Linked DNA regions of Homo sapiens: region 1 is linked to region 2. Evidence: promoter capture Hi-C in 16 types of primary human blood cells and fetal thymus (Javierre and others, 2016). All regions are on one chromosome and are shown on one strand. Each heading gives the region's core, a stretch centred on a gene start or on the middle of the fragment in contact. The rest is flanking DNA. Distances are from core to core; before and after follow the strand shown. Region 1 has its middle 17 kb from the start of XCL2. Region 2 holds the start of SELP (selectin P).

Region 1 (6,208 bases), core at 3,672-6,171, 1.1 Mb before region 2:
CTCTGAAGAAATTAGTTAGAATACAGAACAGGTAAGGAAAATGTGGAAAATGTAGAAGAGAGGTTAAGAAAGATGGAAGATAGAATGAGAAGGTCCAACATATTTCTAATAGGAGCTCCAGACAGAGAGACTAGATGCAATAAAGGAGAAGAAATATCAGTGATGATGGCTGAGAATTTAACAAAACTGATGAGAGATGAGTTTTCAGATTGAAGAAATGCATTCAGTTCCAAGCAGAATGAATTTAAAAATTTCTACACCCAGACATATTGTAGTAGAAGTGGAAAACATCAAAGACAGAGGGAAAATTCTTAAAAGCTACTAGAAAGAAAAGATACATTTCTTAGAAAATAACAAAAAATTTCACAAGCAACGATTTTTTATAAAAACAATAAACACTAGTTGATATCTGTATTAGGTAATTCTTGAAGCACTATAAAGAAATACCTGAGGCTGGGAAATTTATAAGAAAAGAGATCTAATTGGCAGGCTGTTCAGGAAGCACAGTGGCATCTGCTTCTAAGGGGGGCCTCAGGAAGCTTCCAATCATGGCAGAAGGCAAAGGGGGAGCAGGCACATAATGTGGCAAGAATGGAGAGAGAGAGAGAGAGAGAGAGAGAGAGTTTGTGAGAGAGTGTTTGTGGGGAGAGGTGCCACACACATTTAAACAATGAGATCTCACCAGAATTCACTATCATGAAGACAGCACCAAGCCATGAGGGATCTGCCCACATGATCCACACATCTCCAACCAGGCCCACCTTTGGCATTGGGGATTACAATTCAACTGAGATTTGGGCAGGTACAAACATCCAAACTATATCAATATTATAAAAAGATGTCTTCAAAATGAGAATAAAATGTTTATGTCAACCTGGAGTCACACGGTTACATAAGCATACAAATGTGAGGCAAATAGTGACATTTTCAGAGATACAAAAACTTAATTTCCTAGTTACTTCAGTGAAAGAACTAATAAATATTACTCCTGGAGAAAAAAAATTAAACCTGAAGGAGGGATTGGGATGTTAGGAACAACTGAGGCTAAAAAACTGGTGTTATGCAGGTAATTCCAAATTAAGTACAGATGTACAAAAGGGATTAATTATTTTTAAGACAAATGGTTAAAAACTAGGTAGAACTAAAATATTATACTGTGATGGCACAGAAGATGGAACTTTTAAGACTAGAAGTAAAAGTTCTAAAATTCTTGTCTTAGCAGGGAGGACTATAGAGGATTCACTAATATGTAGATTTTCTTAAGCCAATATGCTTGTTGAATAAAACAAATAAACAAAACAAGTGTCTCTCTCCCTCAATGGGTAAAAGATTTAAACAGCTACTTCACTAAGGAAGACATAACGATGACAAATAAGCACATGAAAAGGGGTGTGATCAGTAGCTATTAAGAAAATGCAAATTGATACCACAATGAAATACCACTACCTACCTAATAAGTGGCTAAAATTAAAAAGACTGACCACATCAAGTCTTGACAGGAATGTAGAAAAACTGGAACTCCGACACATTGATGGTGGTAATATAAATGGTACGACTTTGGAAAACAGACAATTTTTAAAAAGTTAAACATGCACCCACAATATAATTCAGTGATTCCACTTCTAGGTTTTTGCCCAAGAGAAAAAGAAAATATGTCAATATCAATACCTGTATATTTATAGCAGCTTTATTTTTAATAGTCTCAAAGTGGAAAATACACAGATTTCCATCAACAGATGAGTGGTTAAATAATTGTGGTTTATCCATACAACAGAATATTACTAAGCAATAAAAAGAAATGAACTAACAATGAGAAAACATGGACGCAGGGAGGGGAACATCACACACCAGGGTCTGTCGGGAAGTGGGGGTAAAGGAGACCGAGAGCATTAGGACAAACATCTAAGGCATGCGTAGCTTAAAACCTAGATGGCATGTTGATAGGTGCAGCAAACCATGGCACATGTATACTATGTAACAAACCTTCACGTTCAGCACATGTATCCCAGAACTTAAAGTAAAATTTAAAAGATAAAAAAAAAAAAGGAAAACAACCTGCAGAAACATTTTGATTACTAATAGGGGAATTTGAATAAAGACTTTTGTATTCAATAATGTTAAGAAATTACTATTAATTTTGTTATGGGTAACAGTATGATTGTGGTTGGGTGAAAATGTCCTTATTTGTTGTTATGGCAATATATACTAAAATAAAAAAAAAAAGAAATGAACTACAAATACATGCAACAATTCCATGCTCATAATAATATCAAGTGGGCCCAGTTTGGTGGCTCACACCTGTAATCCCAGCAATTTGGGAGGCCAAGGTGGGCGGATCACGAGGTCAGGAGATCGAGACCATCCTGGCTAACATGGTGAAACCCGTCTCTACTAAAAATACAAAAAAAAAAAAAAAAAAAAAAAAAAATTAGCTAGGCGTGGTGGCGGGCACCTGTAGTCCCAGCTACTCGGGAGGCTGAGGCAGGAGAATGGCGTGAATCTGGGAGGTGGAGCTTGCAGTGAGCCGAGATCGCGCCGCTGCACTCCAGCCTGGGCGACAGAGCGAGACTCCGTTTCAAAACAAACAAACAAACAAACAAAACACCTGAGTGAAAAAAGTCAGAAACAAGAGTGTATAAGGTATGAGTCAATTTATACTAAACTCTAGGAAATGCAAACTAATCTATACTTGCAGAAAGCAAATCATTTGTAGTTTGGGGACGTGGGGGCAGGGAAGGATGAGAAGGAGGGTTATGCATGAGAAAACTTTTGGGAGTGATGGATATGTTTATTTTCTTGATTTTAACTTCATGGGTATATATATATATATGTCAAAATCTATCAAATTGTACACTTTATGTGCAAGTTATTGTATGTTACATCTCAATAAAGTAATTTTAAAAACAAAAATATTCATGTTAAAACGTAAGAATGACCACTAAAAGACTAGAAATAGAATGTATAACCTTTAAATTAGTAGAGGGAAACTAAGACAGTAAATATGACTTGATTCACCCAATGAATATGGGACAAGGGGGAAAAAATAGAAGAAATCATGTCTAAAAGAAAAAGTAAGATGGTGTAAATCTGGGGTCAGCAAGCTTTTTTGTAAAAGGCCAAATAATAAATTATTTTGGCTTTGTAGGTAATATCCTTATTGCAACGATTCAGCTTTACTGGTTGAAGGATAAAAGCAACCATCCTAGATGGCTGAGAGTGGCTATGTTTCACTAAAATATTATATACAACAGCACACGCTGGGCTACATTTTTCCCATGGGCCATAATTTGTCAGCTCTTGATATAAAAAATGTTTGTCAATAATCACAATATAAATAGAGTAACCCTATCTATTAAAAGAGTAGATTAAAAATTCAGCTATTTGCTACTTACAAACACACTTTTAAAAACGTAATGATAAAAATAAGTTGAAAGACAAAGATTGGAAAAGACGTGCCAGTAACCTAGCAAATAAAAGTCTAGAAAACAATAGCAGTCTAGCAACAACCAACATTTCTAGAGCCAGGCACTGTGGTTAGTGCTAAGGTCATGTAGTTGGCAAGTGCCAAGCTGGAATCCAAGCCACGCCATTTGTCTTCAAAGTCCACATTTTAAAACATCACTGTATTTTGACTATCAAACAAAACTGAATTTGAGGAAAGAAATAGTTAAAGGTATACAAAGTGATTTTACTGCATGAAAAGTGGTGGGAAAAGTGTCTAAACATGTAACAGCTGTGAACCCATATGCATCTAATAAAATTGGTATGCACGTGCATGCGTGTGCGCATGCACGCGTGCACACACACACACACACACACACACACACACACACACGAGCATTATATGGAGAAATTGACAAATCCAGAATCATAGTAAGGAATTTCAACACATCTTTTCCAGATCACGCAGATAAAACATTGCGAAGAAATACATGTATAAAATATATCAGTGCAAGTAACAACCTTGATCTCATATATTAAAATTTACACTCAACACATAAGAAATATTTATTTATAGAATTATTATAAAAATTGACCACAGAGATAAACATCCCGATCAATTTGGCTATTGTTTTCATTAAAGCAATGAGGTACTTAGAAATAAATCTGACAAAATGTTTGGAGAGACGGCATGCCGTATTGGATGAGCACAAGAACTCTGGGACCGAGTTGCCTGGATTCAAATTCTGATTGTTATACTTTCCAGATGTGTGACCTTAAGAAAATTAGTTAACCTCTCTGTGCTTAAGTTTCCTTATTTGTAACATGACAATAGAATGGGGGAAAATAATTGTTATATTTCATAAGATTGTTGTGAGTCTTAAATGAATTAATGATTTATGAAGTGCTTAGAATAGTGGCTTGGTACATATAAGTGTTCGTTAAATATATACCTAAACGTGAACAAAACCCACACAGAAAATATTGGAGGATGTAAAAATAAACCCAAATCAAGGAAAGTTAGACCAAGATTTAATATTATAAATACGTCTATTCTCCTCAAACTAATGAATATATTCAAAACAGCTTTAATCAAAATATAAAAGTTTTGTTTTATTTAGGCAAAGAGTATCTAAAATTCACATGGAAAGATAGTCAAGAAATCAAGACTAGTTTAAAGGATAACATGAAGAAGATGTTAACAGGCCATACAAATAAAATACCATGATAATAGCACTATATTAAATAAAGTCCACAGAATTGAATAGATAGGTCAGAAGCAAACCTAATCACATATAAGACCATGATATATCATAGAAATGTTGTAACAAATAAATGGGAGAAATAATTGACATTTTTTAGTGTACTCTAAACGTTTTCAGTCATAACCCACAGAAAAAAATATATTTTATTTTATGTTTCAGTACTCAACCAAAGCATATGTGTGTATGTGTTCTGTAAACACTGTTTACCTTTACTATATGAAATGTAGTCTAATATTTTCTATATAATTTAGTTTTTTAAAAAATGGTAGTTACAATCCACTAATTTAAAAAAAGCCCCATTAATATATTACAAATATAGAGTCTGAAAAATACTGGATTAGCTATAAATGTATAGAGAAAACTACCTTTCCATACTGAAAAATATAAAAATAGATCCTTACTTCATACTATACTTCAAAAAAAATTCCAGATAAAGTGGCTAAATATGAAAAACCTTTCAATCAAAATATAATACTTTGATGTTATACTTTTATGTTACACAATGATAAATGACAAAGAAAAACATCAAATAGTTTGAAAACTTCAATTTAAAACTTCTCCATTACTTCCATATAACTAAGAAAATAGGCCGGGCTTGGTGGCTCATGCCTGTAATCCCAGCACTTTGAAAGACTGAGGTGGGAGGATAATCTGAGGTCGGAAGTTTGAGACCAGCCTGACCAACATGGTGAAACCCTGTCTCCACTAAAAATACAAAAATTAGCTGGGGGTGGTGGCATGTGCCTGTAGTCCCAGCTACTCAGGAGGCTGAGGCAGGAGAATTGTTTGAACCCAGGAGGCAGAGGTTGCAGTGAGCTGAGATCGAGTCACTGCACTCCAGCCTGGGCAATAGAGTGAGACTCTGTCTCAAAAAAAAAAAAATCTATAGGATTTGTATCCAGAATATTAAAGAATTATTAAACATCAATAAGAAAAATCTAACAACCTAGTGGGAAAATGGACAAAACATACGAAAGGACCATTCACTGAAAAGGAAGTTTGAATGGCCAACCCAAATATATGAAAAATGCTCAAACTTCCTAGTAATTAGGGAAATGCAAGTGAAAACAATGAGACACTATTTCACAATGATCAGATTGGCAAAAACATAAGACTAGCAATATCAAGTTTTGGGAGGACAGGGGAAATAAGAATTCTGATACCATGCCATTAGGAGCAAAACATAAAACACAAACAATAAAAACATCCATCAACTGCTGGATAGTGCTTGCCTCTGCCCAGGGAGGACAGGAAATAGGATGGGGGATGTAGATCCTAAAGGATGTAGATCTTGTATTACTTTACAAAATATCTGAAGCAAATAAGGCACAGTGTCAATTGCTAATTCTGAGTAGAAAGTACATTGATATTTGCTATTTTATTCTCTGTATTTTTCTTCAAATTGAAAACATTTTCTGTGTTTTAAAAAATATGTAAAGAAAGACACTATTATCAAATTTACTTTCTCCTCAACTGATGACATGAACCAATAAATAACTATT
Region 2 (6,493 bases), core at 1,093-3,592:
TTGCATTTTGAAAAACAGGTAATGAAAAGAAGAGTAAGGACTGGAAGCCACATAAGGTGGTTAAAAGGTATAAATGGACGAAAATCCAGACCTGCTCCTTAGCCCACTAAAACTTTTTTTTTGTTTTGTTTTTGAGACAAGTCTTGCTCTGTCACCCAGGCTGGAGTTCAGTGGTGTGATCTCAACTCACTGCCACCTCCACCTCCTGGGTTCAAGAGTTTGTCCTGCCTCAGCCTCCTGAGTAGCTGGGATTACAGGCACATGCCAACATGCCCAGCCAGTTTTTGTAAGTTTAGTAAATATGGTGTTTCACCATGTTGGCCAGGCTGCTCTTGAACTCTCGACTTCAAGTGATCTATGCGCCTCGGCCTCCCAAAGTGCTGGGATTACAGGCATGAGCCACTGAGCCCGGCCATAGCCCGCTAAAACTTTGACAAACATCAGTGCAATTTAACTATAAGTTCCCAATCAAGAGCTACTCCTCTGAGATCTATCTGATTGAAAATACCCCACCAGAAAAACCTTATCCTCATTTTCTCAGGTCCTAAAAGTTAATTAAAGCCACTCTCTGAACTTGAAGCAAAATTTACACAGGCAGTTTGAGGTTTCTGAATCTTTGGGGCCAAATGTGCTCAGAGGAAAAGGAAGAGGTCTTGTCTTTGAAATATTAAAAACCATTCCAGGGCTGGGGCCTTAGCACTTCGCTGTAGAGCTCAAGCCTAATTTCAGGGTACCAAGAGAGGGGCTTCTGAACATAAAGCCCAGGAGGCAATCGAGAAGGGTTCTTACCCTGGGATCCACATGGAGGTCTGGGAACCTCCTGTGGTTGTCTCTAAAGGTTGGTGTTTATGTCGATGTTTTTGCTTTCATCTGGGAAAGACAAGTTGTAACTTTCATCAAAATCTCAAAGAACTCTCTGATCCAATAAGTTCATACCTTTGAAATAGAGGAGGATGCCAAGGAGAGTAGAAGGAAGAGAGGAATAACTGCTCATTTAAGTTAACCAATTCAGAAGTATGACATGCAAAAAGACAGGACAAAAGTAATTCATATCCTTAGGTCATTGTGGTTCAAACTTAAGACAGGCTCAAACTCCTTCCTCTTCTCTTTATCATACTCTTATTCCTGTTTTCCCCAACACAGAAACCCACATTATAAGTACTTGAAAAGTGTGCTATAGTAAAGCAAAGCAGTAGGATGAATCAGGTGTATGCGGTACTTTTTTCTGGAGTCCCACAGAAAGGTGCTCAAAAACAGAGACCTGCCTGGTTCCTCCATAGCCACAGACTGCAGGATTTCGGACCCTGGGACTATGTGGGATACTCTTGGAAAGTCTGAGGAAAATTGGAAGTAGCTTAACCATGTGCATTTTATCTAGGTGCATATAACATTGCTGAGTTCAAAATGCCTAGCTATCCTTGGATCTTCCCTGAATTAGAAGTAGCCTAACCACGTGCATCTTATCCATGAGCATATAACATTGCTGAGTTCAAAATGCCTAGCTATCCTTGGATCTTCCCTGAATCCTAAACCCCACTATTCCTAAGAATTTTCTTTTTATTGTAACAATAATGGCTAACATTTACTAATCACTTACTATGTGTCAGGCTCAGATCTGGATGCTTTTCAGCAAAATCTTATTTAATCCTCATGATGAAACTATAGAGTATTATTACTATATCCATTTTATAGAAGAAGAAACTGAGTCATTAACAAGATTGAGTCTTAGGGCAGAAAAGGAAACTATGTGGATATTCCAGATCAGTCCCAGAAGATTCATAGGCTCACAGAAAGAAATGGGAGGGATGGGGATGAGAAACTATTCAATTGTAAGCTTGTCCCAGGGCACCTACCCAGTCTTCCATTTATTCCATCATTTATCCCAGAGAGAAGTACAGTCTTGGAAAATGGGGTGACAGGTTTACCATGATCTATTCTCAGAGAGCCCCTATAAATTCTAGTAGGAGGAACAGCAGCTGCGGAGCCAGAGGACAGGCCCCAGATCCCAACATCATGTAGCCTAACAGTGAAGCTTAGATAAAACACAGCCTCTGTAAACCACGATGGCTTTATTTGTAAAATAGAAATAGCAACCTCAACTCACAAGGGTGTTGGGAGGGTCAAAGTGGACAGCAAGTTTAAAAGTACTCACAAAATCTAATAGGCAATTCAACATAAAACTCCATGGCTATCGCTGTTCCTCACTTTCTGAACCTTTACCTGCCTGACTTTACTCCATACCACTCCAACTCACTTCAACCACTTCCCATGCAGAAAAAAATAAACTCACCATCTCCTCTGTGACTCTGCTGGTTTTCTGCCTTCTGCCCAACCCAGACTGCTTACAGTCTCACTGCCTCCCCTCAGTGTCAGGCTGTTTAGAAAAACAACTTCCTATTCACATTCCAGAAACTCACCACAGCCCTTCCCATGAAGTTAGAATGTTGATAATGCAAGAGTAATGTTGGCAGCTTAGAAATAGTGGTTGCCAAGAGGCAAGGGGTCACCCCCTTCCATGGAAGATGGTCTGGAGGCAGGCGCAAGGTGAATTACTCCTGGATATCCCAGGCTGAGCAATGTGGGAACAGTACACACACAAAGGTTTCCTTGGATTATGATATAAGCTCCAATTTAAAGTAGTACATTTGGAAAACATGCTTTGAATTAATTACAATGTGATTTTCCAGTGCCCATTTTCCAGTAATTATGACATGTCAGTGAATGTTTACTATTCCGGCAGCCTTCTGAGGGAAAGAAGCAAAATTAGTAGCACAAAAAAAAATAGAGAGAAATGGAAAAAGCCACTAACAGTTTTCTGGCGCTTGGGAAATTTTATTGGTAAGTTTCAAAATGACGTATTAAATAGACATAGGTCATGTGAAAGGAATTCTGCTTCTTATATCAGAAATAAAAAGGTATACAAATAGATACCTTTTTATTTTCCTCTTCCCATGGGATGTGTAGGACCAAAAAGCTGTTGGCATAGTGGTTAAGACTTCAGCTGTGCTGTTAAACTGCCCGAGACCCATCCTGGCTCCTCTTCTGGCTATCTACTGGGCAAACTACTTAAGCTCTCTATGCCTCTGTTTCCTCAACTGTAAAACAGAATAACAGAACTTGCCTCACCGGGTTGTTGTAGGATGAAATGAGTTAATATGTACAGAGTGATTGAAATGACACTTGGCCCACAATTGATGCTCAACAAATGTTAGTGATTATTATTACTTTTCAGATTGATCTCAGACAGCAAAATCAAGTATCAAGTATTTAGTTTCAAGTCAGAAAGCCATAACTCCTATTTATACTCTTGGAATTCTATTGTACAGTAGTAGGTATTATTCTTCATTCACTTCATGATGGTTACAGCTTGTAAATAGGCATCTCATGGATAAATTTAAAATGGAATGAAGTAGAAACATTGGAAGAAAGTCTAAAGGTAAAGATGAATTAGGGTATATAAGGCTGCATTTGCACGTTGGAATTTGGGACCAAGAAGAAAAAATTAATTATATAGTAGAAGTAGAAAAGATGGTGAAGGAAATGCTGTTGAAGGAATGACTGTAGGGGAATAAGGGAAACTTAGAGAGAGGAAAAAATGAGGAACTTCTTGGCAGCATGATGCAGTTCAGAGTCCAGACCCTAGAGTCAGACTGCCTGGCTCCACCACCTACCAGCTGTGTTGGGCGTTACTAATCTCCCTATAACTCAGTTTCCTCAGTGATGTGGTTTGGCTGTGTCCCCACCCAAATCTCATCTGGAATTGTAGCTCCCATAATTCCCACAGGTTGTGGGAGGCACCTGGTAGATCATTGAATCATGGGGGTGGTTTCCCCCATACTGTTCTCATGGTAGTGAATAAGTCGCATGAGAGCTGATGGTTTTATAAGGGGAAACCCCTTTTGTTTGGTTCTCATTTCTCTCTCTTCCCTGCTGCCATGTAAGACGTGTCTTTTGCTTTCTACCATGATTGTGAGGACTCCCCATCCACGTGGAACTGTGAGTCCATTAAACCTTTTTTTTTTTAATAAGTTATCCAGTCTCGGGTATGTCTCTATCAGCATCATGAGAACAGAATAATACACTCAGCAATGTGAATAATAAGGATAATAATCACCAAATACATAGACATGTAAGGACCATTAAATGAATTTAATGTGTTTGGAACAATACCTATCACGCTGTTAAGTGTAAGTTTAAGTGTTGGCTATTATTCTATAAGACTTGCCTCCATGTCTTTCTGTTCTTACTTTCACTCACCAGCCCCTCTTTTTGGCATTGCCTCATGTTAGAAAAAATATATATAGTCTCAGATGGGGATGAGGAAGTGTGGTATGTAGACTAGTAGGTTCTTTTTTTGAGACAGGGTCTCACTCTGCGGCCCAGGCTGGAGTGCAGTGGCATGATTACTGCTTGCTCCAGCCTTGACCTCCTGGGCTCAAGCAATTCTCCCACCTCAGCCTCCTGAGTAGCTGGGACTATAGATGTGTGCCATCACTACTGGCTAATTAAAAAAAAAAATCTCTAGAGATAGGGTCTCTCTATATTTCCCAGGCTGGTCTTGAATTCCTGGGCTCAAGTGATCCTTTCACCTCAGCCTCCCAAAATGTTGGGATTACAGGCATGAGCCACCATGCCCAGCCTGGTAGTTTCTTATTTATAATAAGTTTGATATTAATAAGTTCAATTGATCATATGTTTTTAAGTTTGATATTGTTAAATTTTAGTGAATATAAGGAAAGCATAAAAAGATTCCTATGCAGGTGACATTAGCAAGATGGTGGAGTAGGAGATGTCAGCCTTATGCCCCAACAAAAAAACAAACATAGACAGTTATACACAAACCAAAATAGCCCTCACAAGGGTGGGGAGTTGGGGGATGGGGCTCAAGAGCCTGTTAAAGAATTTGGAACAACACAATGGAGAAAAGAAAGAATATCCATGTAGAAGAATCACCGGTGAGACTGGCATATATGAGACACCAGGAGATAGCTACGAATAAAGAAATTTGTAGGCTATCTGTGTCAGTCATGTGACACAGAGCCACTGAGGCCCCCAGTGTCCTGCTCCACAGAGGACACTGGCATCTTTTATCCAACAGCCATTCCCATAGCAGGATGCTAAAAAGGGAAACACAGTTGCACTACCCCTCACACCCCCTCACCAAGAAGCAGCTATTGTTGCACTGCCCCAGGACTGGGGCCAGGGTTACCACCTCTCACAAGTCTATGTGTGTTCCTGATCCCCAAAAGTTGTGGCTGCTCTACAGATATTCACACTCTGGACTGTGGCTCTGTGGCTGCAGTGCACCTCCTCATGTCTCAGACACTGGAGTCACTGCTGTTGTGAACTAGATCTCACCCTGGGACCCCAAGCCAAGTTCTCTCTGTGAAAGTCTTTGCTCCAGACACTAGTTCAGCCACTGTAGAAAGGTAACCCATATTCTCAACTCCAGAGCTGCTGTAGTAATGTGCACACCTGCGCTCCAGACCCTGTCTCTGAGGCTGTACTACACACACCCACACCTCCAACACCAGAGCCACCACTATAGTGAGCTAGTGAACACCCTGGGTCCTAGAGTCAAGGTTTCTCTGTGCCTGTCCATGCTCTAGTCACCAGCTCAGCCACCAAGGAGAGCTAGCCCACACCCTGGATCCTGGAGCCACTGTAGCTCTGCGTATGCATGCAGTAAAGTCCCTGGCTCCTTAGCTGCTTTATAAGTACCTGCATTTTACACACCATTATCAATGTGATAGTAAGTATGCCTGTGCCTTGGGCACTGGTACCATTGCTACAATTGAATCTGGTGCTGTGGTCCCTCCATGCATGCCCATGCTTCAGGCCTTGGCTCTTGGCCACTCCATGGGCACTGTTCATCAGACACCAGTGTCACCACCACCAGGAGCAGGCCTGCAAGTTAGACCTAATTCCAAGAGGGATGTCCTCAGTCATGACTTCCCAGGTGGGGAAAAAAAGAGATATGGAGGACTTGTCACAATTGAAAACCTCAACAGCCTCATTGCCACTGTAGATACCCACAGTGTTGGCCTCTAAGGATCCCTGTAGTATTCACTAACACCAACCTCAGCTGACAGATCTGCATGGAGACCACACAGCTTTGCCCCTACTGAAGTCAGAACTTTTGCATCCCACCCAGCCAGCATCCTCGCATTATTCCACATAAGAAGGTATTTCTCCACCAAAGTCAGCCCATACAGCCTGAAATTGGGGCAGATCCACCAGATGCTCAGACAGCAGTGTAAGGCAGCAAGAAACATGAAAACCCAAATTAAAATATCACCACCTAAGAAACACAATAATTTCCCAGTAGCTGACCCAAAAGAAATGGAGTACTACAAATGGCCTGACAATGGATTCAAGATAATTGTTTTTAAAGAAGCTCAGTTACTTTGAAGCAAACACAGAGAAACAATTTGGTGAAATCAGAGAAACAATAAATGCACAACATAAGAAATGTAACAGAAAGATTGAAATC

What was found. The method cuts DNA at HindIII sites, captures the fragments that hold promoters and counts their contacts. A CHiCAGO score of 5 or more calls a contact.
Region 1: a fragment that was not itself captured here is called in contact with the fragment with the promoter of SELP in region 2 in 1 of 17 cell types (non-activated CD4 T cells); the score reaches 6.6 in non-activated CD4 T cells.

What each region holds. Positions count from the first base shown.
Region 1 is chr1:168,523,919-168,530,126 of GRCh38, forward strand. No RefSeq gene overlaps it. Among named protein-coding and RNA genes, the nearest start is that of XCL2, 17 kb to the right of the region's middle. The HindIII fragment of the contact is 3,645 bases long and covers 3,100-6,208 here.
Region 2 is chr1:169,627,782-169,634,274 of GRCh38, forward strand. It overlaps SELP (selectin P), which reads right to left and starts at 2,343. Exons shown (of 17, transcript NM_003005.4): 1 at 2,291-2,343. The coding sequence starts at 2,293. The HindIII fragment of the contact is 5,122 bases long and covers 2,031-6,493 here.